2 separate regions of the Homo sapiens genome follow, and region 1 is linked to region 2. The links are contacts of gene promoters, found by promoter capture Hi-C in human tissues and cell types (Jung and others, 2019). All regions are on one chromosome and are shown on one strand. Each heading gives the region's core, a stretch centred on a gene start or on the middle of the fragment in contact. The rest is flanking DNA. Distances are from core to core; before and after follow the strand shown.

Evidence for each region. The method cuts DNA at HindIII sites, captures the fragments that hold promoters and counts their contacts. A contact is called where the count stands out against the background at its distance.
Region 1: a contact is called between a fragment that was not itself captured here and the fragment with the promoter of ARFGAP2 in region 2, in 1 of the 25 tissues and cell types used here (thymus).

Annotation. Positions count from the first base shown.
Region 1 is chr11:47,233,528-47,236,227 of GRCh38, reverse strand. DDB2 (damage specific DNA binding protein 2) reads right to left here. Exons shown (of 10, transcript NM_000107.3): 5 at 1,556-1,655; 6 at 1,294-1,471; 7 at 816-958. Among named protein-coding and RNA genes, the nearest start is that of ACP2, 14 kb to the left of the region's middle. The HindIII fragment of the contact is 6,251 bases long and covers 1-2,700 here.
Region 2 is chr11:47,175,446-47,178,145 of GRCh38, reverse strand. It overlaps ARFGAP2 (ARF GTPase activating protein 2), which reads left to right and starts at 1,267. Exons shown (of 16, transcript NM_032389.6): 1 at 1,267-1,364; 2 at 1,512-1,630; 3 at 2,223-2,295. The coding sequence starts at 1,293. It overlaps PACSIN3 (protein kinase C and casein kinase substrate in neurons 3), which reads left to right. Exons shown (of 11, transcript NM_016223.5): 11 at 100-624. The coding sequence ends at 215. RefSeq lists enhancers at 140-189, 270-319, 167-748, 1,290-1,519 and a silencer at 810-1,239. The HindIII fragment of the contact is 14,797 bases long and covers 1-2,700 here.

The DNA of each region.
Region 1 (2,700 bases), core at 156-2,655, 58 kb before region 2:
GGCGCAGTGGCTCATGCCTGTAATCCTAGCACTTTGGGAGGCCAAGGTTGGGGGATGGCTTCAACCTAGGAGTTCAAGACCAGCTTGGGCAACATGGCAAAACCCCATCTCTATAAAAAATAAAAAAATTAGCTGGGTATGGTGGCGCATACCTGTAGTCCAATCTACTTCCGAGGCTAAGGCGGAAGGATTGCTTGAACCCAGGAGGTTGAGGCTGCAGTGAGCTATGTTTGTGCCACTGCACTCCAGCCTGGGTGACAGAGCAAGACCGTTTCAAGAAAAAAAAAAAAAAAAAAAAAAAGGATCAGCCTGGGTAACACAAGAATACCCTGTCTCTACAAAAAAAAAAAAAGTGAGGCAGGAGGATCGCTTGAGCCTGGGAGATCAAGGCTGTAATGAACCATGCTTGCCCCACTGTACTCCCACCTGGGTGACAGAGCGAGACCCTGCCTTAAAAAAAATAATAAAAAAATAAAAAATGAAGGTTTGTGGGTCAACTGTACACAGGTAACTGAAGCTGAGAAGACAGAACAGAGGGTCAGGATCTTAGAAAATTCTCACAGTGAGATCAGAGCTGGGCTGAAAAAACTCAGAAAAATATCTTATCAGCGAGACAGAAAACTCAACCATATGGGATGGCAGAAGTGGGATAAAAGGAAGAGAGAGAGCCAATGGGTAAGAGATGCTCTGTGCTCGGGCCAGGAGCGATCTGGGGTGGCAGGCTTACCACATCAGCCCTTCCCCACTGTGGGCAGACCTGCTCCGGCCTCATGATCACAGCCTCCTTCTGCGAGCTCCTTCCCACCGCCACTCACCTTGATGGGTGTGAGGTGCTGGAAGTGACGGTGAGGGTGCGGGATCAGGCCCAGGGGGCAGTCCCACTGGGAAGCAGAGTAAACTCGGATCTCGCTCTTCTGGTCCGTGGTCAGGAGCCGGGCTCCATCGGGACTGAAACAAGCTGGCAAAGTGAAAAGCCCCTGAGCTGAAGGAACCACAAGCCCTCTGTGGTCCTGGCCTTGCAGGCCTTCTCCTGCAGGGGTACTCTCCCTCCCACTCCTCTCTAGACAGGAGCGGAAAGGAAGAGGTGAATCTGGGCTGTGAACAACAACAAAAAAATTCTGGAAACTCAGCAGCTGATGGGGACAGCCACAGCCACAAAGGTTCCCAGACATCAGCTTGGCAGACGCTATCAGGGGTAAAGGTTTGACGTAGTGGCTTCCACACTGAGGGAAAACCCCAGCAGTGGTCAGACAGGCAGGGTCTGCAGGAGAGATGAGGTCTGGGATATCACACCTGCGTTGACAGGATGCCTGTGCGGCAGCGAGTAGAGGAAGCTGGCTTTCCCTCTAACCTGGCGCAGGTCCCAAATTTTCACTGTTTGATCTACGGAGGCTGTGGCCAGGAACCAATCACAGCATGGGTTCAGGGCCACATGCGTCACTTTCTTTTTGTGCATTCTGAGATTCCAAAGCTGCAGAGAAGAGCTCGGTTCAGGTGGGGACACAGAACCGAGGTGGGGGTGAGGGAGGGAAAGGCAGGACCTCGGAGAACGCACCTCTTTGCCGTCCATGTTCAGCAGGATCACGTTCCCCACGTTGTCTCCTGTGACCACCATTCGGCTACTAGCAGACACATCCAGGCTACAAAACCAGATGCTGGAGGGAGAGACTGTGTTGTAAGATTCTTGGGGACAGAGATAGTCCTATTTACTCACTGTTGCCGCTCCGGTGACTAACCCACAGCGGGCATTCAATAAATATTTGTTGAATGAATGAATAACTGTCTTGCCGTGGATTCCTAGTGAGGAACATTCAGACTGCTCTACCGTCCAGACAGAGGGGATGGGATAATGGGGCTCAGAAATCTGTCTGGTTATGGCTGGGCCCAGGATCCCCAGCTCCTAAAAGTCCCTGAAGCAGACAAAGCTTATACCATAAAGCAAGCCCTGAGGCACGCCTGCCCCCCACACCCCGGGTTCTGAGCAAGCCTCCTTTACTGCTCTCTCCTTTCACTCTTCACCCTTTAGGCCAAAGGAGACACAAGCCAAAGAGGGATTGCCTGGCCCTGTTCCTCAGAGCTGGCTAGAAAAGCACTTCTGCCCCCTTCTGAACACTGGGGGAAAAAACACAACCAGGAGCTCTTCTGGTCCCTCAAACCACTGGACTGGGAGGCTGACTAGGAGGGTGCTTCAGGGATCCTGCTATTCAGCCAGAAGAGCTCAGCTCACAGTTTTTCTCTCAAACTCTCAAATCCATGCTACACTGCCTTTTGCCATCCCCTATGAATATCTTCAAGCAGGAAGATTTCTTGCGGAAGAGTAGCCTGGAGCCTTGTCTATCCAATTGCCTGCTGATTTGCGTGCGCATGCACTCCTCATCCCTGCGGGACAGCCCAGGATCCAATCCAATGCTAGTTACACCCCAGCACCCTCACTTAATTCCTCAGGGAGCAGTCAGAGTCACGGCTCTAGCTGGAAATCAAAGTGACGAGTATTCTGTAATTTTTTTTTTTTTTTTTTGAGATAGATTTTCGCTCTTGTTGCCCAGGATGGAGTGCAATGGCGCCATCTCGGCTCACTGCAACCTCTGCCTCCTGGGTTCAAGCGATTCTCTTGCTTCAGCCTCCCAAGTAGCTGGGAATTACAGGGGCCTACCACCACGCCCAGCTAATTTTTTGTATTGTTAGTAGAGATGGGGGTTT
Region 2 (2,700 bases), core at 18-2,517:
GGGCTCTGGGACCACACCATCCCCCTCAGTCCTTGACCCAGTTGCAGGAACAGGGCCTGGGCCAGGGCCACTGGCAGTGACCAATCCCCTTTCCCCCAGGGGAGGAGCTGCTGAAGATGAGTGAGGAGGACGAGCAGGGCTGGTGCCAAGGCCAGTTGCAGAGTGGCCGCATTGGCCTGTACCCTGCCAACTACGTGGAGTGTGTGGGCGCCTGAGTGTCCTGACAGCCCTTCTGCAACGTTTACCCACCCTGGTTCAGAGCCCAGCTTCTCCTGGAGAGCCGGACCCTCAGGGCCCTGAACCGTCGCTCTCTGGCTGCTCCTCTGTCCCTTGAGGGAGGAAGTCCTGGGACCCAGGGAGGGGAGGGGCCTTTGTCTAGGGAAGGGACTGGTAGGGAAGGGACGAGTCTAGGCTGAGGGCAAGATGGGAGGTCAGAGGTGACAGAAGCGTTCAGGGGTGCCTGGGCCTCCCCAGGAGCTGTGGACTCAGTTCCTGACCTCTGCTTTGGGGTTCCTGGGGTGGGCTTGGGGTGAGTGTAGTTCTGGCCTAGCAGCACCCTCTTGTGGCTTGTTCTAGCGTGTATTAAAACTTGACACACACCCACACACAAAAACAAAAACACCACTGTCGGGCTCATGTGCATTTTTTTGATAGGACACCCTTGCCAGGCCACCAGAGGGCATCTAGAGAGAGGCCTAGCGTCTGTTATGGGGCCGGGGTTGGAAAAGGGTTTGCCTGCTTGGTACCTGCTCTGGAACTTCGAGATACTAATCTGGAGTGGAGGGGACTCGCTGTCAGGCTTGCTGTTAACCGAGAACGGCTGAAGGCTGGGCGAGACGCGGGCCAATGCGTCTGCCCGTTCGGGCCGGAGGGACGAGGAGTGTTTGGGCAGCCTAATCCTTATTCATCGATCTGTAATTAGCTGGAGTGGGGGTCCCCGCCCCCAGCCTCCCGCAGCCTGCGCGGCGTGGGGGCGACTCCACCTGGGGGTTGCGGCGTGGGAGGGGCGGGGGGAAGGGTACTACGCGCGCGAGGAGGTTTGGGCCGGTCCGCGCGCCGTCGCCCCGCCCCGGCTGCGGATTGGCCCGGCGCGGCGTTGATTCTTGCGGCCGCGGTTGTCGTCGCCGCCCCCGTCCCGCCGGCTGCCCATTGGTCCAGATCGGACTCCAATCACCCCACCCCTCGGCTGGCCCAGGCACCGCTGAGGCCGGCCTGGTGAGCCCGCCCTCCCCGCCGTGGATTGGCCCGCGGCGGGACCCGTCAGCCGCGGTTGTGTCTGGGAAGGAGAGAAAATGGCGGCGGAGCCGAACAAGACCGAAATCCAGACTCTTTTTAAGAGGCTTCGCGCAGTTCCAACCAACAAGGTGCGTGAGCAGGGGGCGCGCGGAGTCTCTCGTCCCGCTGGGGCCTGAGGGAGGGAGAAGGGCGGAGGTGGGTTATGTTTCTGGGGTGTCGGTGCCTGGCCTTTACTCGGGGCCCCTGACGATTCGCTCATCGCCGCCTCCACCCAGGCCTGTTTCGACTGCGGCGCCAAGAATCCGAGTTGGGCCAGCATCACGTACGGTGTTTTCTTGTGCATTGACTGTTCCGGGGTGCACCGCTCCCTGGGCGTCCATCTGAGCTTCATCAGGTAGGCTCTCCGCGCGGTTGCCGTGTTTCCACCCGGCCGGCCAGGGGTGTCTGGGCAACAAGGGAGAGTGGCTGCCTCGACTTGGGCCGCTCTGAATTCGGTGGGAAGCCTCTGGGCCGAGAGGGTCCGGTAGCCTCCTGCCAGAGGGAACCACCTGTGTGGGCCCTTTGGCACATGGGCGGTCCGTCTCCGCCTCTGGGCCAAAACTTCCTCTTTTTTGACGGTCAGGCTTGAGACTCTGAGCGTTAGTTGAGGGGAAAGGGAGGCATTGACCTTGTTGTTGCTGATATGTTGTTAGACCAGTATGTCTCTAGTGAGACTGTGACCATCCATTAGGGGAAAGCCAAATCCAGGCGTGCGTGCCTGAGAATGTGACCTCCTTTCGGATCTGGGGACATAATTAGTACTCTTTGGAGTAAATGAACGAAGAGGAGAGTTTTCATGGACAGGGTAGTGTGGAGGAAATGGGGTGATGGCTGATTAATGTTTCCTGGGTGCCTACAGCAGCCTGAGGCCAAGTGACAGGTATCCGGGTTGCCAGGGAAATCCTGCTGGTATCTGCTAGTGGGTGAGACGCAGCCCTTGTACACAGGTCCACAGAGTTGGATTCCAACTGGAACTGGTTCCAGCTGAGGTGTATGCAGGTCGGCGGGAATGCCAATGCGGTAAAGCTCCTTCTACTTCCCTCACCTTCCATTCTTCTGCCTGGTTACTAACTTTGCACGACTCCCTAAGAGGCCCTGTCGTTTTCCCTGTTCAGAGGGTTCTCTGTTCTATAACACCACCATAAGCTATTTTCTGAAAACTTCGAAACTGGTCACAGCTTCTCTTAAATGGGTTTCAGATTCCAATTAAACTGGGCAGGTGTTCTTGGGGAAAAGCCACAGGAGTTGGGAGCCTTCACAGTCATTGGGTCTTGTGGGCCTGCCCTGGATGAAGGATGGGGAGGCTGGGTATGGGATGTTGTGCTCAGGCAGCGTTCAGTGGGGCCTGGACTTCAGTCATATCAGAGGATGGCCCGCTGCAAGGTGTTTTTTGCAGGAATTTCGAGAAACTTTATCTCTGAAAAA